Linked DNA regions of Homo sapiens: all the other regions are linked to region 5. The links are contacts of gene promoters, found by promoter capture Hi-C in blood cells and fetal thymus (Javierre and others, 2016). All regions are on one chromosome and are shown on one strand. Each heading gives the region's core, a stretch centred on a gene start or on the middle of the fragment in contact. The rest is flanking DNA. Distances are from core to core; before and after follow the strand shown. Region 1 holds the start of PCDHA5 (protocadherin alpha 5). Region 2 holds the start of PCDHA9 (protocadherin alpha 9). Region 3 holds the start of PCDHGA10 (protocadherin gamma subfamily A, 10). Region 4 holds the start of PCDHGC5 (protocadherin gamma subfamily C, 5). Region 5 holds the start of PCDHB5 (protocadherin beta 5). Region 6 holds the start of PCDHGA8 (protocadherin gamma subfamily A, 8). Region 7 holds the start of DIAPH1-AS1 (DIAPH1 antisense RNA 1).

What was found. Contacts are between HindIII fragments. The CHiCAGO score rates a contact against its expected background, and 5 or more counts as called.
Region 1: a contact is called between the fragment with the promoter of PCDHA5 here and the fragment with the promoter of PCDHB5 in region 5, in 13 of 17 cell types (M2 macrophages, erythroblasts, neutrophils and 10 more). The highest score is 13.2, in M2 macrophages.
Region 2: a contact is called between the fragment with the promoter of PCDHA9 here and the fragment with the promoter of PCDHB5 in region 5, in 10 of 17 cell types (erythroblasts, neutrophils, M2 macrophages and 7 more). The highest score is 19.2, in erythroblasts.
Region 3: the fragment with the promoter of PCDHGA10 here is called in contact with the fragment with the promoter of PCDHB5 in region 5 in 12 of 17 cell types (naive CD8 T cells, fetal thymus, activated CD4 T cells and 9 more); the score reaches 12.9 in naive CD8 T cells.
Region 4: a contact is called between the fragment with the promoter of PCDHGC5 here and the fragment with the promoter of PCDHB5 in region 5, in 5 of 17 cell types (fetal thymus, naive CD8 T cells, neutrophils and 2 more). The highest score is 7.6, in fetal thymus.
Region 6: a contact is called between the fragment with the promoter of PCDHGA8 here and the fragment with the promoter of PCDHB5 in region 5, in 9 of 17 cell types (fetal thymus, activated CD4 T cells, naive CD8 T cells and 6 more). The highest score is 10.0, in fetal thymus.
Region 7: a contact is called between the fragment with the promoter of DIAPH1-AS1 here and the fragment with the promoter of PCDHB5 in region 5, in 9 of 17 cell types (naive B cells, naive CD4 T cells, naive CD8 T cells and 6 more). The highest score is 9.6, in naive B cells.

Annotation. Positions count from the first base shown.
Region 1 is chr5:140,819,666-140,823,400 of GRCh38, reverse strand. PCDHA5 (protocadherin alpha 5) reads right to left here and starts at 1,788. Exons shown (of 4, transcript NM_018908.3): 1 at 1-1,788. The coding sequence starts at 1,625. The region is part of intron 1 of PCDHA1 (protocadherin alpha 1); the gene reads right to left. The region is part of intron 1 of PCDHA2 (protocadherin alpha 2); the gene reads right to left. All of the region lies in intron 1 of PCDHA3 (protocadherin alpha 3), which reads right to left. It also overlaps PCDHA4 and PCDHA@. The HindIII fragment of the contact is 13,774 bases long and covers 1-3,735 here.
Region 2 is chr5:140,846,496-140,850,094 of GRCh38, reverse strand. PCDHA9 (protocadherin alpha 9) reads right to left here and starts at 1,713. Exons shown (of 4, transcript NM_031857.2): 1 at 1-1,713. The coding sequence starts at 1,599. The region is part of intron 1 of PCDHA1 (protocadherin alpha 1); the gene reads right to left. All of the region lies in intron 1 of PCDHA2 (protocadherin alpha 2), which reads right to left. All of the region lies in intron 1 of PCDHA3 (protocadherin alpha 3), which reads right to left. It also overlaps PCDHA4, PCDHA5, PCDHA6, PCDHA7, PCDHA8 and PCDHA@. The HindIII fragment of the contact is 21,410 bases long and covers 1-2,431 here.
Region 3 is chr5:141,410,366-141,414,321 of GRCh38, reverse strand. It overlaps PCDHGA10 (protocadherin gamma subfamily A, 10), which reads right to left and starts at 1,335. Exons shown (of 4, transcript NM_018913.3): 1 at 1-1,335. The coding sequence starts at 1,146. The region is part of intron 1 of PCDHGA1 (protocadherin gamma subfamily A, 1); the gene reads right to left. The region is part of intron 1 of PCDHGA2 (protocadherin gamma subfamily A, 2); the gene reads right to left. The region is part of intron 1 of PCDHGA3 (protocadherin gamma subfamily A, 3); the gene reads right to left. It also overlaps PCDHGB1, PCDHGA4, PCDHGB2, PCDHGA5, PCDHGB3 and PCDHGA6, and 7 more genes. The HindIII fragment of the contact is 11,668 bases long and covers 1-1,788 here.
Region 4 is chr5:141,486,544-141,490,407 of GRCh38, reverse strand. PCDHGC5 (protocadherin gamma subfamily C, 5) reads right to left here and starts at 1,327. Exons shown (of 4, transcript NM_018929.3): 1 at 1-1,327. The coding sequence starts at 1,167. The region is part of intron 1 of PCDHGA1 (protocadherin gamma subfamily A, 1); the gene reads right to left. The region is part of intron 1 of PCDHGA2 (protocadherin gamma subfamily A, 2); the gene reads right to left. All of the region lies in intron 1 of PCDHGA3 (protocadherin gamma subfamily A, 3), which reads right to left. It also overlaps PCDHGB1, PCDHGA4, PCDHGB2, PCDHGA5, PCDHGB3 and PCDHGA6, and 13 more genes. The HindIII fragment of the contact is 4,500 bases long and covers 1-1,531 here.
Region 5 is chr5:141,132,664-141,136,856 of GRCh38, reverse strand. It overlaps PCDHB5 (protocadherin beta 5), which reads right to left and starts at 1,651. Exons shown (of 1, transcript NM_015669.5): 1 at 1-1,651. The coding sequence starts at 1,422. It also overlaps PCDHB@. The HindIII fragment of the contact is 16,081 bases long and covers 1-4,193 here.
Region 6 is chr5:141,391,066-141,395,113 of GRCh38, reverse strand. PCDHGA8 (protocadherin gamma subfamily A, 8) reads right to left here and starts at 2,481. Exons shown (of 4, transcript NM_032088.2): 1 at 1-2,481. The coding sequence starts at 2,300. The region is part of intron 1 of PCDHGA1 (protocadherin gamma subfamily A, 1); the gene reads right to left. All of the region lies in intron 1 of PCDHGA2 (protocadherin gamma subfamily A, 2), which reads right to left. The region is part of intron 1 of PCDHGA3 (protocadherin gamma subfamily A, 3); the gene reads right to left. It also overlaps PCDHGB1, PCDHGA4, PCDHGB2, PCDHGA5, PCDHGB3 and PCDHGA6, and 3 more genes. The HindIII fragment of the contact is 13,870 bases long and covers 1-2,842 here.
Region 7 is chr5:141,556,027-141,559,774 of GRCh38, reverse strand. It overlaps DIAPH1-AS1 (DIAPH1 antisense RNA 1), which reads right to left and starts at 1,464. Exons shown (of 3, transcript NR_038333.1): 1 at 1,288-1,464. All of the region lies in intron 18 of DIAPH1 (diaphanous related formin 1), which reads left to right. RefSeq lists enhancers at 1,579-1,873, 1,634-2,486. The HindIII fragment of the contact is 6,603 bases long and covers 1-3,378 here.

The DNA.
Region 1 (3,735 bases), core at 539-3,038, 310 kb after region 5:
GGCACGCCCGCGTCGCGCGCGCTCACCTGGAACTGCAGCAGCTCCACTTCCTCGTGGTCCAGCGGCTGCAGCGCGTACACCTTGCCGCTCTCCGCGTGCACCGAAACGTAACTCGACAGCGGGCGCTCGCCCACCCGCCGCTCCACCAGCGAGTAGGACACCAGGGCGTTCTCCTGCGCGTCCGCGTCCCGTGCAGACACCGTGAAGATGTGGCAGCCTGGCGGGTTGTTCTCCTTCACGAACACGGTATACTGGGGCTGCGCGAACGCCGGAGCGTTGTCGTTCACGTCGGCCACTTCCACAGACACGCTGGCGGTGGCCCACAGCGAAGGCGAGCCCCCGTCCCGCGCGGTCACCACCAGCTCATAGACCGACACGCTCTCGCGGTCCAGGGCGCTGTCCAGCACCAACGAGTAGTAATTCTTGAAGGTGGACACCAGCTTGAAGGGAACGTGGGGCATTAGGGAGCAGGTCACCTGCCCGTTGGCACCTGAGTCACGGTCAGACACGCTGATCAGAGCAATGACCGTGCTGAGTGGAGCGTCCTCTTTGACAGGCAGGAAAAGGGTGGTTATGGCCATCTCTGGGGTATTATCATTCACATCCAGGAGTTTCACTACTACTTTACAGTGTCCTGATAATGGGAATGTACTTTTATCCATGGCATCAATATTAATTTCATATGAGTTATAGTCTTCATAATCCAGTTCCCCGTTAACTTTTATTTCACCAGTATTAGAATTAATTATAAATTTGGACTTTACATCGTCAAGAACAAGATTACTAAAGAAATACACTATTTCCTTATTGATGCCCTCATCTGCATCTGAGGCGTTCAGTTTAATAACTAATGTCCCACTTGGTGCATTTTCCAACAATCTGACATTATAAATGGATTTATCAAATTCTGGGGCGTTATCATTAGCATCCAATACATTGATCAACAACTGAACTGTACCTGTTAGTTCGGGTTTTCCTCCATCAGTTGCAATCACTAATAAACGGTGTTCTTGTGTTTCTTCTCTATCTAAGGATTTCCTCAAAACCAGCTCTAAAAAGTTCGTTTCTTCTTCATTTGTTTTAACATCTAAGTCAAAATATTCGTTTGGATTTAACCTGTATCTCAATTGTGCATTTGCTCCAATATCCAAATCCGACGCGCCCTCTAGCGGAAACCGCGAATCTGGCATTCTTGACTCTAAAATGAATAATCTTTGTTCTTGTCTGGAGAACCTGGGCGGATTGTCATTGATGTCCTTCACTGCCACCTCCACATGGAAAACCTGCAGCGGCCTGTCCACGATCACCTCCAGGTGGATGCTGCACTCCGCCCTCCGCCGGCACAGCTCCTCCCGGTCGATCCGAGAATTCACAAACAAAATGCCATTCTGCAGATTTACCTCCAGAAGGTCCCCGCGGCCCTTGGACGCCACCCGGAACAGGCGCGGCACCAGCTCCGCCAGCTCCAGCCCTAGGTCCTGCGCGATGCGGCCAACGAAGGTTCCGTGTTTGGCTTCCTCCGGGATCGAGTAGTGGAGCTGGCCGCTCCCTGCCTTCCAGTAGGCAAGGAGAAGCCAGAGCAGCAGGAGCCGGGATCCCAGACTTCCTCTCCGGGAATATACCATCTCAATCTCGTTCCAATTATGAGCTTTCTATTGCATCACCACACAATGTATTTTGTAAATTCAATTCCCAATTAACTATATATTTTTTATATTATCGCCTTTCTGAGCTTCTTGGCACAGCCAAAAATGGAAGGTTCTTTTCCTTTCTGTCTAAGGAAAATCTACTCACTGTATTCCTTTGAGGCTGGGAAGGGAGAAAAACCTTCCGGTGTCCAGCGACATCATGTGGATGAAAGGGTAAGTGTTTTATTTTGTTTTGCTTTATTTAGCTTATATTCGTCAATATTTCTCAAGTATTCTCACTTTCAATGACATGATTCTTATTCTTTAAATCACTTATCTCTAGTCAAAATATATCATTAAACTCTATCTTAAAATGCGTCAATATAAGTGCGTCATTAAAATATTACAGAAAAATACATCTAAAGTCATGAAACCCCAATCCTTACTAGAGAAATTTGTGCTGGTGTATTTTATATAGGGAGGAGTTTATATATTTCCAAACTGATAAAAATAACTTTTAAGAGTTAAAGTTTTGACTTTTCTCATCTCTATTTAAACATATCTAATTAAAACTTTTGAGTTTTTTCTGTATTAGTCAATGGAATGTTTGTATGCTATCTCCGTGTTACTCATAAAACAAATTTTTATTCCAATTTCACTGTTTAATAGTGACATTTTGTTGATGTTATTTTCAAAAACAACTAAAACTATTTTAATGGCATTCTTACCTGAGTTTCTTCTCGGAGTTCTAATTTTCAAATCGATGAAAACCTATTTCTTTATCTATAACACCTATCTACTTTTTGTATTGACTCAAAAACTGTAATGGGGATATTTCAGCTTTCTAGAAATCAAAAGCATAATAGAACGACTTTGGTAAATCGTCTTTGCACTATTTTCAAATTAGAAGCATCTAGATAGCATTTCTTCAAGTTGCTATTACTGATAAAGCAATTATTAAAAATTGTAAAATACATACCTTTGTACTTACATAACAAGTCAAAATCCTAATATTGTCTATATGACATACTATTTCACAAAATGTTTAGGTTCCAGTAAATATAATCATGTTGAAAAGAATATCATTTTATTAACCAGGCTATCTTTATATTAGTTTAATTACTTTTTAATCTCCCAACTGTTTACTGGATGGTATGATTTGAACACGACCTAGAAAATTTAGTAAACTTCACTTAATAAATATGGGCAAAAGAAAATATCACCAAGTTTTCTATTGAAGAAATAGCTAACATTCTGCTTGTATATATACTCCATAAAATTCCTTAAATATTACAAAATATCCCTTACCTGTGAAGACAAGAGGGACCAAGAGATTAGCAATTCTATTGTTGGATACTTTTACATTTAAAATATAGCTTGATAAGAAAAAAGAAATTACCAGAAAATGCAAAGTCAGAGGAAATTCACTTGATTTCTGGAATTCAAACTTGTAAAGAAACAAGATATTGTCATAGAATTGTTTCTGATACAATCTTTAAAGATATATTTACCAGTTCCCTTATAAGATTTTTACTATCTCTATTATCATGACTTTTCACTAATATTTGGATCGTTGAAACACAAATCAATTTCCCAGACTATTTGCCTAATAGTTTTCATACTGATAATTTTGAAATATTTTAATACACAATGGTTAAAAACATAAGAAAATGATAATAAATATTTAGAAAACAGCATTAGCTGATGTTAGCCACTTTCTATTATATAACAGTAAATAATGTAAAACTACAAAGCTATGGAATAAATTATAGTAGAATTTTATACAAAATACACAAAGATAACCTTTGAAAAAAGTAAATATTAAGTATTTAAAAGGCAAATTAACAATGTAGTATTAACAATGTGTACATTGTAATCTGCAGAGTATTATGATAAATACTGAGTATTTTAAAAGATATACTCAATGGAGAAAAAGTCATCAACAATATCAGTTCACATGCTCCTCTCAGTCTGGAAAAAATATCTCATGTACTTATATAGATATTTCAGGAGGAAACAAGACTCTTGACTTTTGATTCACTTTCATATCTGTTAAATTATATTTACTTTTTAAATTATCACTTGCATTTGTGCTACAGTGATCAAC
Region 2 (3,599 bases), core at 464-2,963, 290 kb after region 5:
GAACTGTAGCAGCTCCAGCTCCTCGTGGTCCAACGGCTGCAGCGCGTACACCTTGCCGCTCTCCGCGTGCACTGACACGTAGCTCGACAGCGAGCGCTCGCCCAACCGCCGCTCCACCAGCGAGTAGGACACCAGGGCGTTCTCCTGCGCGTCAGCGTCCCGCGCAGACACCGTGAAGATGTGGCAGCCCGGCGGGTTGTTCTCCTTCACGAACACCGTGTACTCGGACTGCGCGAACGCTGGTGCGTTGTCGTTCACGTCGGCCACCTCCACAGACACCCTGGCCGTGGCCCACAGTGAAGGCGAGCCCCCGTCCCGCGCGGTAACCACCAGCTCGTAGGCGGACACACTCTCGCGGTCCAGAGCTCTGTCCAGCACCAACGAGTAGTAATTCTTGTAGGTGGACACCAGCTTGAAGGGGACGTGGGGCGTCAGGGAGCAGGTAACCTGCCCGTTGGCATCTGCGTCTAGGTCGATCACACTAATCAGGGCAATAACTGTCCCCAGTTGTGCGTCCTCTTTTACAGGAACCGAGAGCGTTTTGATAGTCAACTGTGGAGCATTGTCATTTACATCCACAACTTCCACAAGAAGTGTACAATGACCAGCCAGGGGTGGGAAGCCTTTATCGACAGCCTCGACTGGGATCTTGTGTGCTCTACTTTCTTCAAAATCCATATGTCCTATCACTGTGATTGCCCCACTTAAGGGGTCCATGTGGAACTTGGATTTTATATCTGGAGAAACATCACTGGAGAAGGAGTAAATAATATCCCCATTCAAGCCTTCGTCTAAATCTGAGGCATTGGGGTGAATCACCAGCGTTCCGATAGAAACGTTTTCTGGTAATTTCACCGTATACAGGGTTCTGTCGAACACTGGGGCATTGTCATTGTTGTCCAGTACCGTGATGAGTAATTGAACGGTGCCAGTCAGCTCGGGTTTGCCTCCATCGGTGGCCGTGAGCAATAAATGAAGCTCCGGAGTTTCTTCTCTGTCTAAAAGTTTCCGTAATACAAGTCCAAGAGGTTTTACCTGCTGGTTGCTGGTTGGCACGTCCAGGAAGAAATACTCATTGGGGCTCAGTCTGTAAGTGAGCAGGGCGTTCTCCCCGATATCTGCATCGGACGCGCCCTCTAGTGGAAACCGAGAGTCAAGCGGCCTGGATTCCGCGATGAACAGATTCTTTTGTGTCGCTGGGAACACTGGAGGGTTGTCGTTAATGTCCTTCACCTCCACGTCCACATGGAAAACCTGCAGCGGCCTGTCTACGATCACCTCCAGGTGGATGCTGCACTCCGCGCTCCGCCCGCACAGCTCCTCGCGGTCGATCCGAGAATTCACAAACAAAATGCCATTCTGCAGATTTACCTCCAGAAGGTCCCCGCGGCCTTTGGAATCCAACTGGAACAGGCGCGGCACCAGCTCCGCCAGCTCCAGCCCCAGGTCCTGCGCGATGCGGCCCACGAAGGTGCCGTGTTCGGCTTCCTCCGGGACGGAGTAGTGGAGCTGGCCGCTCCCCACCACCCACATTGCGAGGATCAGAAGCGAGAGCAGTAGAGGCTGACCCTCTGGATCTCCTCGACTTGAGTATAACATTTCAAATACTCAGTCTTCTTCTAATTAGTGAAAATTGCCTCCAAATTAGAAGAAATCATCTGATTTCGTCAGTCCCATTCTGCTGTGTTCGCCATCGTTCAGCACAGAGAGAGTGAAAAAGAATTGAGCCTCTTTCCCATGGGAAAAGGGCTGTATTTGTCTGGATTCAGAGAGAACATCGCGGCAAAGAGTGACATCACGTGGCCCAAAGTGTAAGTACATATTTCATGAATAAAAATTTCACAGTTATTCTGCAAAACTTATTTCATTTTCTTAATTTTTTCTTAAGTAATGATTGTTGAAACAGAAGATCCCGTTTCTCTTGCTGGAGCCTTCTTAGCAGACTGACTGCCTCTAAAAGTTTTGTATGACCTTGATTGTGGTTTTCTTATCCCTGAGAAAACTCTCCACTTAAGTTTTAAATAACGACAGAAATGAAGTAACAATTAAAATGATTCCATTGAGCAATCACGAATTTTAAATTACAAAATTCTTTTGTTCTGGAATTCAGAATCTCCCATATGGCTCGAAATAGGATTCTAGTGTAAGAGAAATCCAGGAGTTGCAATCTCTAGTGAATATAGGAGCCCAGAAATCTACTGATGAAAAAGAAACTTAGTCATGTCTGGTAAAAGGAATCAACAAAAAGTAGCAACCAACTGAGGTAGTTTTCTTGAGTAATTCTATGAATTGAAAAGGTATAAAATATTGCAAGAAAAGCGAGAATTGACTTTAAGGTCTTGTGTTGCGTGGGGAGAAAATATATTTTTCTCTTTTGTAGCATTTATACAATCTGTTTCCAGAAATGTGTTGTTTTGATTCTTTCCAAGCTTTATAATCTATGAATAATCTCTTCTTTGTAGTCTCCAATATAGTTTGTGTAATGTTATTACAATATGTTTTAATTTCATTATTGCTCATCCTTAGTACTCGGGGCAATTTCTGTTTTTAAAGCTATGCTTGAGATTCTTTTCCTGACTAAGTTCTACAAAGTTTTGTTGTGAGTTTTACTATCTTATTCCAACGTCCAAGTCGATTAATTAAATCTAGATTTTAGTGTATCTCAAGTCTAAAGGCAAAACCGTGAGTGTTTATTGTGCCATTAATGTTTTTGCATATTTATCTTTTATTTCGTATTTCTACTGATAACAGCCTAAGAGGTGCATTTAACAATTGCTTCTGTCCTTGATTACTGCAGGAGCTTCTGAGTTTGTCTTCCCGTTCAACCTTCTTTCAAAAGTCGTGATTTATTTTGCTCAAGGTAGTTAAATAGCTCCCAATTAATTCTAAAGAGTGGCCAAATTCCTTAATCACTCATGGCCCTTTAGTTTATTACTCAGAAATCAAGAGATCTTCTTACATTGGTTTTCCTGCTTTCATTCTCTGCAGACTGTGTGTTTTAACCAAAGTGGACTTTTCTACTTGTCATATTGATGCTTTCTGTGTCTTCAACTTTCCTTATGTTTTCTCTTTCCAAGAAATGTCTATCATTCTCAATATTCTCCCGGGGGGAACTTACTTATTTTAAAACCACTGAAACACACCATGCCCCTTCAAGTATTTCTTCAAAAATTCAAATAGGAAATGATTGTCTTTCAACTTCAACGTCATTCTGATTTACCTCTTGTACCTGTTACATTATCTTGCCTTGCATTGTGTGACTCATATTCTTTATTTGACCTCAAATTTTAAAGCCAGGGGCTGGGGCTCAGTAATAATTCCTGACATGATGATATGCTGTTAGAGATCTGTAAGGGTCCTATTTAATGTTTAATGAAGACTGGTTATTACAATCTTCTCTACTTGCTAAGAAAGCATTTTAGGCTGGGCGCGGTGGCTCATGCCTGTAATCCCAGCACTTTAGGAGGCCGAAGTGGGCGGATCAGGAGGTCAGGAGATCGAGACCATCCTGGCTAACATGGTGAAACCCCGACTCTACTAAAAATACAAAAAATTAGCAGGGCATGGTGGCATGCACCTGTAATCCCAGCTACTTGGGA
Region 3 (3,956 bases), core at 86-2,585, 280 kb before region 5:
CTGCTCAGAGTCTAAATCATGCACATTTAAAAGGGCTACGACTGTTCCCAGAGGTGAATCTTCAGTCACTGGACTAAATAGAGACGTGATGGTCAGCTCTGGACTGTTGTCATTTACATCTTCTACTGTAATCAACACTTTTGCAGTTGCAAGATATGCTCCTCCATCTTCTGCTTGTATTTCTATTTCATAGAAACCGGTTTCTTCATAATCTAGATTTTCTGATATTTTTATTTCTCCAGTATATTTGTTTAGTTGGAACTTCAACAATTGCGTGTCAGGTAATTTTCGGAATGAATATGTCACTTCTCCATTGGCACCTTCGTCCCTGTCGGTGGCTGTGACTGTCAGCAGCTGAGTGCCCACAGGCAAATTCTCAGGAACACTCACTCGGTATTCTGGCAAGGTGAAGACCGGCGCGTTGTCATTTGCATCGAAGACAGTCACACTGACAAGGACAGTGCCAGATCGGAGAGGGTCACCCCCGTCGGAGGCGGTGAGGACCAGGTGGTGAATGGCCTCTTCCTCGCGATCTAGGGAGTGCTCCAGTACCAGCTCCGGGTACTTGACGCCATTGGCACGGCTCTGAACTCTTAGGGAGAAGTGCTTATTGGGGCTGAGCTGATAGCTCTGCAGGGAGTTCACGCCCACATCCGGATCAATAGCTTCCGGGAGAGGAAAACGCATTCCCGCAGCGACATTTTCATTAATTTTTACGTCTAGATTTTCTGCTTGGAATTTTGGAGCATTGTCATTGATATCAGTTACTTCTATTTCTATCCCAAAAAGTTTCACCCTGTCTTCCACAAGGATATTAAAACTCACCACGCACCGCGCGCTCTGAGCGCAGAGCTCCTCCCGGTCTATCCTGCCCGCGGTGATCAAGCTGCCGCTGCGCGGGTTCAGAGAGAAAAGCTGCGTCCTACCTCTGGAGACTATGCGGACTCCGCGCTCCGCCAGCTCCCGGGGCGCCAGACCCAAGTCCTTGGAGATGTTGCCCACGAAAGAGCCTTTCTCTAATTCCTCAGGAATTGAGTAGGAGATCTGCCGGGCTCCAGCCTCCCATGGAATCCCGAAGAAAAGGCAGAGCAGGACCAGCCCGCTGCAATCCTTTGATTCCTTTGAGCGATTCCTTTGAGCGGCCATTGTAGTCTGGTTACAGAATTCTGCAAAGTCCTCACTGGACACGTTGTGTGTTTCAACCGGTTCCTTTGTCTTTCTGTGGCTTCAGGGTGTCTCTGTAGCCTGGGCACTTTAAATTCTGGAGTGAGCTTCCCTGCAGCCCAGCAGCCGGTTTGTGGGGCTTGTGTAGTTGAAGCCCTGAGAATCCGGATTGAGCTCTGGCTGCGTTTTCTCTCCTAGTAGGTGAACAGCGGCGCTCAGAGTCCTAAGAAGTTACTGCACCCAAGTGATACATGCAATGGAAAGTAAACTATTCTGTTGGATTATTATATTTTACATAGATTCTTTGGTTTCTCCACTCCTATCTTTAAATAATTTACTATATGTAGGTTTCTTAGGGGAGGTGTGATAAAGTGGAGTGAAAATATTGTAAATATTTCAAGATAATGTTTGGTTAAATATATATTTGCAACACGTTTTCCCAACAGAAATGTACACACTTTAATAAAAGGTAAATAATACTTATTTTAGGTCATATTAGTGTCTAGGTAAATTCAGAAAAGTCTTATAATTTAAAATTGTGATTTGAATAGGCCAATTTTATTTAGTATACATTCATACAAAGATTATATTAAATAAACTCATGAGATAATTCACTCTGAAGCTTTATAATTGTAACTACTTAATTCATTAAACTTATTTAGCTTAGGATTGTGTAAGAGGTTTTTAAAGTACTCTTCTAGAATAGTTTTACTGAGCCTTAATTAACCTTTTTGTGTAAAACATACTTTATCTTACAGGGATACAAGTTAAATGGACCTATTTAAATGATTAAGCAGGTAATCACAAACTAAAATGAACATATATTACAGTTGCAAATTAAACTGTTTGCATTGTAATGAGAAAAGAAATACGTAGAATTTGAAGTACTAAAAGTTTTAGAAAACAAAGTTAGATGTAGTGATATAGGTTTTTAACAAGTAAGTGTTTATGTCAAATGACCTGTTTTCATCAGAGCATTAATACCAGTATAAATAATCTCTTCTCTTAGGCAGTTTGTATCAGAGGCCAAAGTCCAGTGGTTCACATATCTTCAACTGTGTGTGCCCATCAACCCAGTAGCAATTGTTCCCTCAAATGCAAAGGGTATAGAAGTTCACTTCTTTCACACAGAGAACAGGATGTTCAGAAGTGTTTATGTCACTATGCCTTCCAAGTATAGAACTCTTCAAAGATTTTATCTTTTTTCTTCAAAAATCTTCTATCAGAGAATCAGAGACAGAGACTGAGTGCAAAGGCAATAGTATTTCATTTATTTCTTAGAAATGTCTTTTTTTTTTGAGACAGGGTCTCACTCTGTCACCTAGACAGCTCACTGCAGCCTAGACTTCCTGGGCTCAAGCGATTCTCCCACCACAGCCACCAGAGTAGCTGAGACCACAGGCATGTGCCACCACACCCTGCTAATTTTTAAATGTTCTGTAGCGATGGAGTCTCCCTGTGTTGCCCAGGCTGGTCTCAAATTCCTGCGCTCAAGAGATTCTCCACCTCCACCTCCCAAAGTGCTGGGATTACAGCACACTTGGCCCTGCCTGCATATTTATTTATTTATTTTAGAGACAGGGTCGCACTCTGTCGCCCAGGCTGGAGTGCAGTGGCAAGATCAGGGCTCACTGCAACCTTGACCTCCCAGGACCAAGCAATCCACCCAGCTCAGCCTCCCAAGTAGCTGGGACCACAGGGGAATGCTACCACACTCTGCTAATGTTTTTTTTTGTTGTTGTTGTTTTAGTAGAGATGGGGGGTCTCCCTATATTGCCCAGGCTGGTCTCAATTCTTGGGCTCAAGTGATACTTTCCGATTCAGCCTATCAAAGTGCTGTGATTATAGGTGTGAGCCACTGGGCCTGTCTTCTGAATATTTTTAGGCTTTAAAAATATATAAATAAGATATCGTAAATTCACTAAGTCTTCGCAAATTTGAATAGATAGGTTACTTGTTTGTTTTCTTAGATGCCAAGACCACTGCTTCTGTTCGATAGTCAGAACTTGACAAAATATTGTGGCTCACGCCTGTAATCCCAGCACTTTGAGAGGCCAAGGTGGGAGGATCACGAGGACAGGAGTTTCTGAACAGCCTGGTCGACATAGTGAAACCCCATGTCTACTAAAAATACAAAAAATTTAGCTGTGGTGAGGGGCACCAGTAATCCCAGCTACTTGGGAGGCTGAGGCAGGAGAATCGCTTGAACCCAGAAGGCGGAGGTTGCAGTGAGCAGAGATCACGCCACTGCACTCCAGCCTAGGCAACAGTGCGAGACTCCATCTCAAAAAAAAAAAAAAAAAAAAAAGACAAAGACAAAATATCTTCAGTCTGGTGACATTATTTTACAAAAAGATAGAGCAACTTATGAACCAAATACATAGTGAAAACTATAATTGAAAAAACATTGAGAAAATATTGTAAAAAGCTATGGATTTTAAACATATGATTCTAGATATGAAAATAAAGTAGTATGCCTAAAATATGAGAAACTAGTAGACTATTAGATAAATCACACACAAAAAAGAGAAACTCACCGAAGTCAGAGTCTCAGGATGTGAAGTCAAATCCTCCCCACCATGAGGTGGAATTAAGGCTCCAGGAGAAACACTGCAAACCATGTCTTCATTGGAATGTAGGGGCACACTGCATTTTAGGAAATTAAACTCTTTTGTACCCGTATGTGCAATGCACAGATTATAAGAATAAGGCAAAGTCCCCTCACTGTAGTTGGGGGGAACTACAGGTCCAGACTTGACACAGAGACCAGGATGGAAGCAGTCCCAAGTAGC
Region 4 (3,864 bases), core at 78-2,577, 350 kb before region 5:
GATATCAAGGCTCACTTCACCATTTCTACCTGAGTCCCGGTCTCGCACATTAAACAACCCCACTACTGTGCCCACTGGTGTGCTCTCTAGGACAGGGTTGGCCAAAGAGGCCAATAGCACCTCTGGGGCATTGTCATTGACATCCCCCACATCCACTTGAATCACACAGTGGCCCTCCATGGCAGGCTGTCCCTGGTCACGGGCTCTTGCATGAATTTCATAGAAACGTGACTCCTCAAAGTCTATGGGACCCAACACATGGATTGCCCCACTGCTAGGGTCTAGGCCAAAGAGGTTCCGCACTGCCTCAGATGTGTGGTCTCCAAAAGAATAGTCTAGTTGGCCGTTGGTGCCCTCGTCTGGATCAGTGGCATTGAGGCGGAGCAGCAGAGTACCAATGGGTGCATTCTCTGGGATTCCCACACGTAGAACTGAGGATTGGAAGGTTGGAGCATTATCATTGATGTCCAGCACGATGACAGAGATAAGGGTGGTCCCTGAGCGGGCTGGGGTCCCCCCATCCACAGCAGTAAGCACCAGCTGATGTCTTGCCTGGGCTTCACGATCCAGCTGCTGCTCTAGCACCAGCTCTGGGAATGGCTTCCCATCTTTTAGGGTCTTCACATTCAGAGAGAAGTGGCTGTTGGGGCTTAGAGTGTAAAAGCTCACAGTATTGGTGCCCACATCCGGATCCTGGGCACTGTCCAGTGGGAATCGTGCCCCAGATGCTGCTGATTCTGAGATGCGCATCTCTCGCTCAGGGGTGGCAAAGCTAGGAGAGTTGTCATTGAGATCCAGGATCTCTACCTCTACACGGATTAGCTCCAGGGGGTGTTCAGTCACCACCTGCACTGGCAGCAGGCAGCTGGTGCTGGCTCCACATAGGCTTTCTCGGTCAATCTTTTGATTCACTGCCAGGGCACCACTCATCAAGCTCAGGGAAAAATAGCGCCCATTCTCCTCAGAGCCCAATTGCAGCCGCCGGCTCAACAGATCTGTCATCTTTAAGCCCAGATCCTGAGCAACATTCCCCACCAGCGTCCCCGGCTCAGACTCCTCCACCACTGAGTAACGAAGCTGCCCAGACACCCAGCCCCAGCAGCACAAGGACAACATGCACAGCACTTGCCATTTCCCAGCGAGCTGTGGGAGTGTCTTGGGCCCCATGACCCAGAAGTCCCTTTGTGGAGAGTAAGTCTGTGCTGTCCTGTCTCCAAGGTAGACCCAGGGCTTGGAATGCAGCAGCTGAAGTCTCTTATGTCTCCTTCCAGCCTCTTAAAAACTGCTCGGAGGTTTGCCTGCTTGCAGCAGTTCTTAGTCACCGAGTGGCGGGGGTGGGCAGGGGGGAGGGGAGCTGAATTTGAGTGGAGCTGGGGAGCTGGAGGAGGAGAGGCGGGCTGGAAGAGCAGATCTCCCACCTCAGCTCTGAGTCTGATTGGCCAAAAAGTCTGTGTGCTCTCAACCAATTATGGAGTTTCCTCAATCCTGGAAACCTTGGGAACACAGGCTGCAAATCTGTGTCACAGAAGCTTCCTACCTCCCCACTCACTTCGTGCTGCAGGTTGATTCAGCCCCCTTGGCAGCAAAGTTTGACAGCTCAGATGGTACTCAACAGGGAAGACAAAGTGATACAAAACTCCTCAGCGTTCTGTCCCAGCAACTTCCTGCATGACTTCAGAAGCTTCCACCACTTTGCTTGAACCAGCAAAATCTTGTCCTTCTGGGAGAGGCAAAGCCCATGTATTCCCCCACCCTCCCCCATCCTGCTGAATGCTGCTAAGGTGAGAGAAAAGATTAGTAAGAACCTTGTAAAGTCTTGCCCTGACTCTCCAGCAATGCTTTGCGGAAATCTCAATGTCAGCTGACATGGGACTTAGCTTTTCTGACACCCCAGACCCCAAATGTGGAATGAGTGTTACAGTTTTTGGGTAGGGGAACATTTCTGGGGCTGAATCAGGTCACCCAGGAGGGTGGTCAGAGGCCAAGCATGGATGGCTTGGCTTCTAGGTTTCATGGTTTCACCAAATTCAGGAGAACTCAACTTAAAGATGCACAGGGTGGCTGTTTCTATGAATCAGCCAACTGTAAACCAGTTTTCTGACATAAGTGATTTCACTTACTGTTTTTTCCAAAGGTGATGACCAACCCGCCCCAACCTTCCAATTTACCGCATCTAGTTCAAATCCCCAGTAGGGACTTGATATGAGTCCTAAGACCCAGACCAAAAGATCTATGCCACCACTCTGATGCGTGCCTCTCTATTCCTTTAGTTCTCTCCTCTTTCTGCTGTCTCTATGTTTCAAATAGAGAGGTCCCTTCACAGTGTACTAGATACTGGGAGACAAAGATTTTATTTCCCCTCAATCCCTTGGGAAATGGTAACCTAGAGTTAAGGTACTTCAGAATCTGATCCCCTCTTTCAGGAAGAGTAGAGAAAACAGCCACCTTTGTCCAAGTGACTGCCTGGTGCACTGTACCCTGTGCACTGTAGCCTCCTGTGCTCCCACATTCCATCATCATGCTTCCACAACAGCCTGGCTCTTGATCACCAATTACTTTCATTTCTTACTCAGATATAGGCATGACCCGCCCCCAATGCTAAACTGTGACAACTCTGGTTAATTCACGAAACAGTTACAAAGCACAGCGTCTACCACATAGTTACCTCTTACAAAAATGGTGACATCACTATGGGCACTTACTGAGAGGCCAGTACTCTCTAGGACATGGCCTAGCCATATGCCTGGATCAGAATAACCCTCAAGCATTTGTTGAGCCTGCAAAGGTCTCACCTCTAGCCCATAGAGAAGATCAGAGGGTGGGCAGCTTGGGCGAACAGGCTCCCCTGCCATAGGTGCACTGGGTGACTTCACCATCATGAAGCTATCACTCCGAGTGGGTGCAGAAGCCAAGGGTGTACAGCCATGAGAGTGGCCTCCCACATCAACAAACTTGATAGGGTCATCTGACCCTAGCTGGATTCGGAGGATCCCATTGGAAGGGGGAAGCCCCTCCCTCCTTCGAGATCTGGTGAGACAGGCACAGGTGCCAGCAGGAAAGCATGTGACTCCACAGGCTGCCCCACGAAGACACTTAGAGAGTAGTGCCACGAATGAGCCAAAGGAGACAAAGCAAATTGCCACTAGGGACACAGCCAAGTAGAGGGTTAGACGAGATTCTCCTTCCCTTGGAGCTGAAGATTCTCGAAGATCTGGGACAACTGGATGAGTGTCTTCCTCTAAGGACACTAAGAGAGTAACAGAGGTAGAGAGTGGTGGACTACCACTATCCTTTACCACAATGACCAGCTTCTGTGGTGGGAGGTCAGCTGGGATAGGAACAGCCGTCCGCACCTCCCCAGCATATCGAGAGACTGCAAACAGGCTGGGATCTGGGGCCTCCAGGAGCTGATAGGAAACCCAAGCATTGTAACCTGAATCCAAGTCCACAGCAGTCACCTTTGTGATTAGGTGGCCAGCACCAACTGATGGAGGCAGTGCTTGGGGACATAAGGAACCAGGCCGGGCCCGAGGACGGAGCACAGCTGGAGCATTGTCATTGAGGTCCAGCACAAATAGACGAACTGTTACAGTGCTGCTAAGGGGTGGGTTGCCCCGATCCCGGGCCTGCACCTCAAACTGCAGTGTCTGGGTTTGCTCATAGTCAAAGGATCGAGTAGCATGAACAGCTCCTGTCTGGGGGTTCAGAGAGATGAAAGAGGAAGCTGATACATCTCGATTCCTGGGCTCCAGGAGTGAGTAGGAGATAAGCGCATTCAAGCCAGAGTCTGGGTCAGAGGCTGCAAGGGAGCAAAGCAGGTCCCCTGGGCGATTGTTCTCAGGAACAAACACCTCATGTGACCTC
Region 5 (4,193 bases), core at 402-2,901:
GGCGCTGACACTGCCGATGTGCAGGGCGGGGCTGTTGTTCTCTCGGACGAACAGGGTGTAGGAGGTTTGGGTGAAGGCGGGGGCGTTGTCATTGACGTCGGAGACCAGGACCGTTATGTTGTGCTCGGTTTTCAGCCTGGGTGTCCCCATGTCGGTGACAGTGATGGTGATGTTGTACTCGGCTTGGCTCTCTCTGTCCAGTGTTCTCTGTGTCACTAGGGTGTAAAAGTTTTTTAATGTGGGCTTCAAAAGAAAGGGGAGATCATTCTGGATGGAGCAAATCATCCTACCGTTGTCCCCGGAGTCTGGATCAGAAACACTGAAAACGGCAACTACAGTTTCCGGGGCATTTTCTGGGGTAGGGCTGGAGAGCGTAGACATGGTGAGTTCAGGGGCGTTGTCATTCACATCCACCACTTCTATAGCCACAGTGCATTTTCCTGAAAGGCCCCCACCATCTGTGGCTACAATTTCCACGTTATAATATGGAGTTGCCTCGAAATCCAATGCCCTTTTCAGGCGAATTTCTGCTGTTTTCTCGTCTATTACAAATGGTTGAGTAACTTCATCGCCTTGGAATAGAGCATAGGCTACACTCCCATATGCTCCTGCATCTAAATCTCGAGCGGAGACAACGACAACTAAGGAGTTAAGGGGGCTGTTCTCGGGCACCTGTACCTCATAGAATGATTGTAAAAATTCGGGGGCGTTGTCATTATTATCCAAGACGACAATGCGAATTGTGGTGGTCCCGGACCTGGGCGGAGCCCCACCGTCCAGTGCAGTGAGTGTTAAGCTGAGCTCAGGCCGCTCCTCCCGGTCCAGCGCTTTGTCCAGCACCAGCTCTGGGTATTTTCTGCCATCTCCGCGATTATGCGTAGCAACATGAAAGTGTGAATTTGGGCTGATTGTGTAGTTCTGAACAGTGTTGCTACCTATGTCAAAGTCCTGGGCTATTTTTAAGGGAAACACAGTCCCTGGCTGGGTGCTCTCTGGGATTTTTAGGAGCATTTCCTTCTCTGGGAACTCTGGGGCATGGTCATTTATATCTGTGAGCTGCAGATCAGTTTGAAAAAACTGCACTGGATTTTCTAGTAAGAGCTGGAAATGCAATATACAGGGTTCTGTCGCCCCGCACATCACCTCCCGGTCTAGTTTTTCATATAGAAGCAAATTGCCGGTCTTTATATCAAGCTGCAAGAGCTCTTTGTTTCCTTTGTAATGCATTCGCGCGCCCCGAGTGGCCAGTTCCCCCACCCCAAGACCCAGGTCTTTTGCCAGGTTGGCCACAGAATAGCCACTTTCTGTTTCTTCTGGTATGGAATACCTAACTGCCTCAGAGCCAGCCTCCCACAAAAGCAACAATATAGCAAGAAACATAACTTGCCTTTTCTGTGGCGTTTTTGCTAGCGCAGTCTCCATTGTTCAGACCCGGTCCAGAAGGCGCAGTTTAACTCCGTACACAATCCACCCAGATGATTTGCATAAATAACCGCGAATCCGATCTTTCTTGACTGATTTCCACAAGAACGAAGCCCACCCTGAAGATCTAGCCACTAGATCTTACCTAAAATGCGTCCTTCTTTTAGAGTTTGGATTCCCCAGCTTAATGGCGTCTGAGTTATCCGCAGAGCCCACTATCCACACTCTTAGCCTGCAGCGCCACCAGGCGTCCTAATTTACTATTGCATATAGTATTTGCCATTTCATCCTAAATTCTAACTGACGTGTATCCATACCCTTTTGTCACATAAGCTCTCCCGATGGTATCTCCAGCTCTTAGTTGCTGAAAGTTCTAAATAAATGTTGTGGAGTTAATTTTCAGTGAGAAAATACTTTTGAGAAAAAAACTAAAATTATATATTAATCTCCATAAAAGTACCCTTGAGTACACAAATACACTTTGTTTGGTGTTTCTTATTTGATTATATTAAATAAGTGATCAGGAATATCTATAGAAATTTAAAGTTTAAGAAAAATTACTTTCACTTTGAAGTAAACACCAATAACACCCAGAAAATGGCACAAATCATAGGTGTATAACTCAATGAATTTTCGCAAAGTGAACACACTCCTGTAAGTAGAACCTAGATTAAAAATACTACCCAAACCCAAGTCCCCACCTGCTATTGTCTGGTTACCACCCTCTCCCCAAAAGATAAGCACTGTCCTGACTTCTGTTGTCATAGGTTTTTTTTGCTTTTTTTTTTTTTAACTTTATACAAATGGAGTTATAGATTGTTACTCTCGTGTGTCTGGCTTCTTCTCCTCAATATTATGTTCAGCAAATTGATCTGTGGCATCTTGTTCTTATTTGTTTTATTCTCATTGCTTTATATCATTCTGTTGTATGAATATACTATGATTTATTTATTCATTCTCCAGTTGATGAACATTGTTTTCCAGGTTTAAGCTCTTTGGGGTAGTACTGGTATAAACATCCTTGTACTAGTCTTTTGGTGACCACATATATGTGTTTATGTTGAATATATTCAAAGGAGTTGGATTGCTATGCATTAAGATGTGCACATATATTTTGCTTTAGCAGATAATGAGAAAGTTTTCTCAAGTAGTCGTACTAATACCAGCAAAGTATGAGAGTTCCAGTTGCTCCACATTCTTGTCAACATTTGATGCTATCTTTTCCATTTTAAACCACTCTGGTTAGTGTATGGTGATATGATATTGTAATTTTAGTTAGCATTTTCCCTGATGATTAAACAATTTGAGCACATTTTCATGTTTATCAGCCATTAGGATACAATCTTGTGAAGGGCTTATGCAAACCTTTTTACTTTTTTGGGGGGAGGCATTTGCCTGTTTGCTTATTGATCTGCAGAAGTTTCTCATATATTCTGGGCATAAGTCCTTTTTAAGATATATGTATTGCAAATATCTTTTCCCACTCTATGGTTTTTATTTCAAGTCTATTATGTGTCTTTGATGAATAAAATTTCTTACCTTTAGTCAGATTTGTCAATAAGTTTCATGTATGATTAGCATTTTTTTGTGTTCTATTTAAATGTTCACATACTCCAAGGTCATGAAAATATTCTTGTATGATGTATTTTGAAAGATTAATTATTCCATTTTTCATATTTAAAGCTATAATCAACCTGAAATTAACTTTTCAAGTGAATGAGTTTGGAGTCAAAAGGTTTAAAATGTAAGTATCTGAATGCTTTAAACCTTTGCACCATCTATTTAAAAGACAATCCATTTTCCATTGTTTTTGAAATGTCATCTTTGTTATAAATTAGGTAACCATAGCTCTGAAGATGTTTTATTCAATCTTGTTTATCCTACAATAACTCATTGTGTTAATTATTATAGCTTTATCATGAGTTTTGTTATCTGAGAAGTAAGTTCTCCAGTTTTTTAAAAGTAGACTAAATTTTTAGAATGGTTTTTGGTTCACAGCAAAAATGAGAGTAAAGTACAGAGATTTCATATATGCCCCTGTCCCCACACAAGCACAGCCTCACCCATTATCAACATCCTCCACCAGAGTGGTTCATTTGCTACAGCTGATGAATCTACATTGGCACGTCATTATAACCTGGAGTCCATAGTTTACATTAGGGCCCATTCTTGGTGCTGTATATTCTATGGCTTTGGACAAATTTAAAATTATGTGTATTCACCTTTATAATATCATACAAAGTAGTTTCACTGCTCTAAAAATCCCCTGTGCTCCACTTATTTATACCTCCCTCCCTCCCCTAGAACCCAATGCAAGTGGATTTTTTTACTGTCTCCACAGTTTTGCTTTTTCTAGAGCACCATGTAGTTGAAATCACACAGTATGTAGTCTTTTCAGATTGGCTTCTTTCACTTAGTAATATCCATTTAGATTTCCTCAATGTCTTTTCATGGGTTGTTAGGTCATTTCTTTTTGATGCTGAATAGTATTCTATGGGTTGAATGAACTGCAGTTTGTTTATCTATTCACCTACTAAACGACATCTTGGTTGCTTCCACGTTTTGGCAATTATGAATGAACTGCTATAAACGTCTCTGTGCAAGTTTTTGTGTGAACATAAATTTTCAACTCCTTTGGGCAAATACTAAGGAACATGAGTGCTAGATAACATGGTAAGAGTATATTTTGTTTTGTATCAAACTGCCAAACTGTCTTCCAAAGTGTCTGTACCATTTTGCATTCCCACCAGCAATGAATGAGAGCTCCTTTT
Region 6 (4,048 bases), core at 1,232-3,731, 260 kb before region 5:
TGACTCTTCCGCGAGTCGGCGGTGAGGGAGACTTCCTGGGAATAGGTCTGCAGGAAAGCCTGTACCTCCTCAACACCCACAAAATGTGAGGCAGGCACGCCTACCAATCTGCCACCGGAATCCTGGAGCAGGCGTGACTTGTGCCAGCGCCTCAGCCTGAGCCCCAGAAGCACAGCGACAAAGGCGAGGAAGACACAGGAGATGGCAGCCACTGCCACCACGAGATAGAGTGTAAGGCTCGAATCGTTCGGGTCGACCGAAGGCTTCAGACTGCCCAACTCGGTCAGGACTTCGGGGATGCTGTCAGCCACGGCTACGGTGAGCGTGACAGTGGCGGAGAGAGGGGGCTGGCCATGGTCCTGGACGGCCACCACGAGGCTCTGCTTGAGCGCATCTCTGTCCAGCAGGGCTCGCGCCGTGCGCACCTCGCCCGTGTGCAGACCCACCGAGAAGAGTCCCGGCTCGCTGGCCTTGAGCAGGCGGTAGGACAGCCAGGCGTTCTGGCCCGAGTCTCTGTCCACCGCCACCACCTTGGTCACCAGGTAGCCACGCTCTGCGGAGCGGGGCGCCAGCTCCACGCCAGTGGAACCGTCTGTGGGGAGGGCGGGGTACAGGATCTCGGGCGCGTTGTCATTCTGGTCCAGCACGAACAGGCTCAGTGACATGTTGCTGCTGAGGGGCGGGTCCCCGCTGTCGCTGGCTGTTACCAGTAGCTGCAGGTCTCGGATCTGCTCATAGTCGAAAGATTGCAGCGCATACAGGACACCGGTGTCAGAGTTGATGGAGATATACGAGGACAGGGGCGCCCCCTGCAGCGTGTCCTCGGTCACAGAGTAAGTGACCTGGGCATTCTCCTGGCTGTCGGGGTCGTGTGCAGTCAAGGAAAAGATGGAGGCTCCTCTCAGGTTGTTCTCTAGGATATACGCTGAGTAGGAGGCATGAGGGAAAGTAGGAGGGTTGTCGTTAATGTCTGCCACGTGCAGAGCGATTTGAGTTTCAGTGGACAGAGGTGGTGTTCCTAGATCTGAGGCCATCACTGTGATATTGTAGATAGAGACATTTTCTCGGTCCAAATATTTCCTTGTCACTAATCTATAATAATTACCTATTGACTTTTCTAATTTAAAAGGTAAATTATCACGTGTGTAACAGACAACTTGACCATTCTTTCCAGAGTCTTGGTCATGCACACTCAAGAAGGCAATTACTGTCCCGGGAAGAGAATTTTCTAACACTGGGCTAAACAAAGACGTAATGATCACTTCTGGTCTATTGTCATTTACATCTTCCACCGAAATGAGCAATTTGGTCCTCCCCAGAAGTGCCCCCACATCTTCGGCTTGTATTTCCATTTCATAAAATGAACATTCTTCATAATCTAGACTTTTTGCTATTGATATTTCCCCAGTATTTTCATTAAGCTGGAATAACGGAGTTTGTTTTTCATTAATTTTCCGGAATTTGTATGCCACTTTTCCGTTGATTCCCTCATCCGGGTCGCTGGCTGTTACAGTAAGCAGCCGCGTGCCTGGGGGCATGTTCTCAAGGACTTTCACTCGGTAAATCGGGTGAGGAAAAACCGGGGCATTGTCATTTGTATCCAACACTGTCACGTGGATGCGCACTGTGCTAGAGCGAGGCGGCTTGCCGCCATCCGAGGCCGTGAGGACCAGGTGGTGAGCAGCCTCTTCCTCCCTGTCCAGGGCGCGCTCCAGCACCAGCTCTGGGTTTATGGCTCCATTGTCTCCAGTCTGCACGTCCAGGGAGAAGTGGTGATTGGGGCTGAGCTGGTAGCTCTGGAGGGAGTTCACGCCCACATCCGGGTCAACAGCTTCTGGGAGTGGATAACGTGCTCCAGGAACCGCGATTTCGTTAATTTTTACTTCTAGATCTTCGACCTGGAATTTTGGGTTATTATCGTTAATATCAATTATTTCTATTTCTACCCCAAAGAGTTTTCCTTTATCCTCAACCAGGGTGTTAATATTTATCAGACACCGCGGGCTCTGAGCGCAGAGCTCCTCCCGATCTATCCTGCCCGCGGTGATCAAGCTGCCGCTGCGCGGGTTCAGAGCAAAGAGCTGCGTCCTACCTCTGGAGACGATACGGACTCCGTGCTTCGCCAGCTTCCGGGGGTCCAGCCCCAGGTCCTTGGAGATATTACCCACGAAGGAGCCTTTGTCCGTCTCTTCTGGCACAGAGTAGCGAATCTGTCCCCTCCCGATTTCCCACAGCGTTCCCAGCAGCGCGCACAGCAGGATCAGCTCGCCGCGTCTGGGGCGACTCTGTGGAGCGGCCATTGTTGTTTTGCTGCAGAATCCTCTCAGAATCTTCACTGTGCATAAATGGGTCTTATTTAGTTTCTTGCCGCAGCTATGGAGATGACAATCCTCCGGAAACCTGGAGTGCCTCCAAACAGGGGTCGGGTTTCGCTGCAGTCCAGCAGTTAGTTTGTGGCATCTGCGGGTCTTCGTGAGGTGTGAGATCTGAGTGTTTTCGGTTGCATTTGTCTTCCAGTAGGTGAACAGCGGCGCTTACAGTCCTAAATAGTTACTGCACTGAGATACAGATTACTTCTAAATGTAATACTCTACTAGATTACTGAGAAAAAAAAATCATTTGCTTATTACTTTGTTTTGAATTTATTTGATTTATCCGTAAACCCATATTTTAAAAGAAACAGCCAAAGAATGTGAGATGAAGGTTTTATTTAGTGTTATTAAATGATCAGATTAGATCAGAATGATCAGATTGTAGCATCGGATTAAATTACTCACATTTCTGCAATACATTTGGTCTTAAAAAAAACATGATACTTTCATTTCCCATTGTGCTCTAAGCTTTATTGTAAATGTCTCCAATATATACTAACAAATAACTAAGAACTTCAGTTGTCACCAGAAATGAATTTATCTTGAGACTAAAATAGACCTACTGGAGATGACTGACTCAGAAATTGTTTTATTTGGTTTAAACTACTTAATCATTTTACAAGCTTTCTATAGAGTTGTTGCTTTTAAATTATTCTTCTAAATGCCACTTGAATTACATGTCGATAATATTTTCAAATAAAAATTGTGGAATTTCAATAGGATAAATGCTTTTACCATTGCAGTTTTATGAGATATTACATTGTTTTGCTATTTTATTTACATTGTTTATATTTTTCTATTTGAATACTTGAAAGGTACAGATGAATATATGATAAAAAGCAAAGCTCCATCCCATCCCTTTCACCAAAGAGATGATTAAATTTAAAGCAGACTTGACTTTTACATATATTCTAAAATTAACTTTACCTACATTAACACTTTGATCTAAAAAACTGCAAAAAGTAATGACTATATAATACTTACTAAGAAGCCAAAGGATAAGTATGACTACAAAAAAGTCTGTTTCCCTTCAAGACCAGCCTGGGCAACGTAGCAGATGAACTTATTTCACCCTTCCTTTGAAGACTGGTATGATAGTTTTTTCACTGACTAAAACTTTCTTAAAACCACTCATGAAATCTGAAAACTTTATATTTTCCTGTGAATATATTTTCTTATGCATATGGAAAACTGGGTAGACAATGGAAACCATACCAGTTAAATTAGTGAAAGAAAATATTTTCTCTACTGAAAACAGAAAAATTAGCCAGGTCTGGTGGCATGAGCCTGAGTTCCAGCTAGTCAGGAGGCTGATGCAGAAGGAATGCTTGAGCCCAGGAGTTTGAGGCTGGAGGGAGCTATCATTGTGCCACTGCACTACAGCCTGAGTAACAGACAGAGACTCTGTCTCAAAAAAAAAAAAAGAAAAAAAAAAGAATCGAAAGACGTTTCCTTCTTTCAGCAATTTGTAAAGTGGCCATTAACTGAAGCAGTTGCTTAGATATACCTAGCAAAAGGCTCATATAATGTTCCTTGGTATTTTGTATATATTTTGTATGCACACCAGATTGGCAGTTTTCAAGACTATATTTCTTTCCTAGAGGTAGGAGAATGATTAGAAGACCTCTAGCTATATTAGTTTAGGGCTGCAGATAAGGCAGTTACACATTATATAT
Region 7 (3,748 bases), core at 215-2,714, 420 kb before region 5:
GCTGACATACCTGAGTCCTTGTTTGGGATAGTGCCTGTCCTTCCAGTCCTTCCCCACCCACATCCTAGAAGCAGACCTCTTTTTAGCACTCCCTAATTGAGTCACCATCCTGGGTGTGCTGGGAAAGTATCTGTGGGAAACTCAATGACTATATTATCTGAAAGACCAAATGCTTGGTGAAGTGCCCAGATTTTTAATACTGCTTTTCTGCTACCCTTCCAGACTTATATCTGTCCCCTTCTTTATAACTCTCAGCATCTGGTTCTTCCTTTGGGATTCTGTGTGGCTTTGTTCTTGTCCTTTAGGTTTGTTCATTAATGCCAGTTTGCCCTGTCCCTCCTTACAGCTTGCACATCTGTAATGGTCTAGTTCTGTGGGATTTTGCAGATAGTTGTATATTTTGGCCAAGGTATCAGTGATACGGTTACCTTTGGGCAGGGATAACTGCTATTCGGTTGGCATGATATTTTTTCCTTCTATAATGTATACCTTAGTGATTGTTTTAAAGTGCTGAATTTATCCCTTATGTATATTACAACCATGAAGAATATAAATCAGAAGTCCTCCATTTGGGCAGCTTCTTATATTAACACTTATATTAACATTAAGACCCTCTTACTGTCTCCTCTTCCCAGAATTAGAGAGTTGATGTAGTGCTTAATAGACATGGCTTATTGTATGCTAGGTGAACTTGGCAATTCCATAGCTATGTTACCCTCACAGAAAGTTATTTCCTGGAGAGATTATTAAGTGTTCTGATCTTTCATATATGCCTGAGAGATCTAAGATTCTTCCACAAAGACCCTATTTCTTCAGAGAAAACTATAGTGATGCCAGAGTCTTTTTTTTTTTTTTTTTAACAACTTGTGATTTTTGTGCACCTGTGTTGTATGTGTTGCCATTATCTCACTTTAGGGACGTTGGATAAACTGGCGTATTTGTGCAGCCTCATTTAAGTAGTGGCAACCATTAATGACTTGTACCCACAAGTTTTTCCAGATAATTTCTGTTTTTTCCACCTTTCTTACATGTTCTTTTTTAGTCATAGGTACTTGGCTTACTCAAGGGAGGTGTAGCGTAAGATAAAGATAATGGAGGGTGTTCCCTGTAGAATAGGTACAAATGCTGCAGGCTTTATCTTGGGCAGAGCAAGTAGGGTTTTGGTCCTGAGTAAGTGAGTGAGGTTAGGTGGAGCTGCCTGTCTTCCAGCCGTGCGGATACAACTGACTCAGTCCGTGTTCTCAACAGTTTTTGAAAAGCCCATTTTTCTATCCCACTTACTCCCACCTGCAGTTCTTTAAGAACGTAGTTTCCAGGATGTCAGGCAACTCCCCACTCCTCCATTTCCTGTTTGTGGTCTTCATTGAGAGACGCCTTAAACAGGAATTCCTGGGGAAGTGCAGGCTATAGCGGTGGGATTCCGGGGGTCATTAGTCCATTATTGAAGCTGGGGAATCATGTACTATAAAAGGACCTCCCTTCCGTTCTGTTGTCTCCTAGAAACTATTACTGATCATAACCAAGCAGTAACTGCAACTCAGGGCTGTTGACTTGTGCCCTTTGTCTTTAGAGACTGAAAATTATTTTCCCTTCTTGTGCCTCAGTTTCTATTAGTTGAATTTTAGAGCTCAACATCAAGATTTGTGACAAAATTAACTTGGACTCTGTAGGACTGATTCGTTTGAAATGCAAAAGTAGTGAAGAACATAAAACAGACTCCCTATCTTGGCCGCCAGGGGGTGCCCTTTCCCTTCGCTTTACTGTCTGGCACTCCCCACCGCATTCAGCCATTTTAGACAGATTGTTTTTGCTCCCAGCTAACTCCATTTTGTATTTGTGACGCAGGAATAAAAAAAGGAGTTAGGCAAAGGAGGAGTCTGGTTTGCAGAGGGAGGGAGACTGGCTGAGGCGCAGCTACGTACTCTTTTACTCAGCAGTTGCTCATCAGGGACACACCTTGCTGCAGGCTGCCTGCATCCTGAGCAATCGATGCCGCAAGTCCTTGCCAGCGGAGCACAGAGCAAAATGGTTTGGCTGCCGGACACCTACTAACAGTGACAGAGTGCTAGCTTTTGAGGCAGCAGGCCAGGGCATCCCCTCTGCCTCATCTAGACTCTAATCCTGGGTTTAGGTGTTTTTGCTACAGAGATGTTTAGGGCAGTTTTCTTAATTATAGGATCAGATAAGAAAAGATACCCCCAAAAAAAGAAGAAAAAAAGGAACCCCTTTCACTTAGCTGTCTGGGAAGAATCAAATGCCCCAAGGACTCTAGGGAAATGGTCCTGAATTTTTTTAAAAAATGTTATTTTTGAAACCGTGAAAAAAATGCACGCACACATACACACATATATGTAAAGAGACTAGTATGAACACCCCTATGTCCATCACCCATTTAAAAAACTTAATCAACAGCTAGTCTTGTTTCATATACCTGTATCAACTTTGTCTTTGCCACCCATTATTTTTACATGTATCCTTGTTCATATTATTTAATCCTTAAGCAGTTCAGAATGTGTGTCAAAAAAATTAGGACTTTTAAAAGAAGATAATTACTACCATTATCACATTTAAAAAATTCTTTATCATCAGATAGCCAGTTAGTATTAAATTTCCCAAATTATCTTATGATAGTTGTTTTTTTTAATAGTTCATTTGAATCAGAGCCAAATAAAGTCTACACATTGCAGTTGGTTGATGTCTCTATAGGTTCTCTCTTATGCTCTTTTTTATTTTTTATTTTGCAATTTATTTATAGACTTAATTTCTTTTAAAAAGATCTCTGCCAGGCGCGGTGACTCACGCCTGTAATCCCAGCACTTTGGGAGGCCGAGGCGGGCGGATCACGTGAGGTTGGGAGTTTGAGACCAGCCTGGCCAATATGGCGAAACCTCGTCTCTACTAAAAATACAAAAATTAGCCGGGCCGCCTGGTGGCGCATGCCTGTAATTCCAGCTACTCGGGAGGCTGAGGCAGGAGAATTGCTTGAACCCGGGAGGCGGAGGTTGTGGTGAGCCAAGATTGCACCACTGCACTCAAGCCTGGGTGACAGAGTGAGACTCCATTTCAAAAAATAAATAAATAAATAAATAAAAAGAAGATCTCTCAGGTTGGGACTGAGAAGATACAAAGCCAGACTTCCCTTCTTGCCAGAGCAGAGCCTCTTCTTTAGGATTTCCCACAGAGGCTATTGGTGACCAAGTGAAGGAGCAATGCCCTGCCACCTTCAGAGGGAGAAAGGGCTGGACTCTTACTTTTCTCCTGACGTGATAATCTGTTACCCAAAGTCTTGAGAAAAGTTTGCACACTGCCGTCAACGGAGAACATGGTCATAGAAGTGGGCCTCACCCGTTCTAAGAATTAAAGGAGAGCTTTTAAGCTTTGGGACAACTGTGTTTGGCCACTGTGTAATAGCTGCATCCCTATGGTGATTCTAGAGTATCAGCTTTTTTTTTCCCGAATACTTTTTTTACTTAAGTAGCAGCTTTCTCCCTGGTAAGACTCAATGAATTAACAGCACTTCATGGACTTTTACAGAAAGAAAAAATATAATACTGTGTTGGGGCCGGGGGGGATGTGGTGAAAAGTCCTTTATGGCTTCAGGATTATAATATCGCTAGTCCTTCCCTTGACCTTTTTGGAGATACTCCCTGAGACTGACTTAGATGCAAATGATCAGATGAAAGTTCTTGCTTAATATTCTTCTCCCACTTCTGAAATGGGTCAGTGACTCTGACTTTCAGCAGCCACA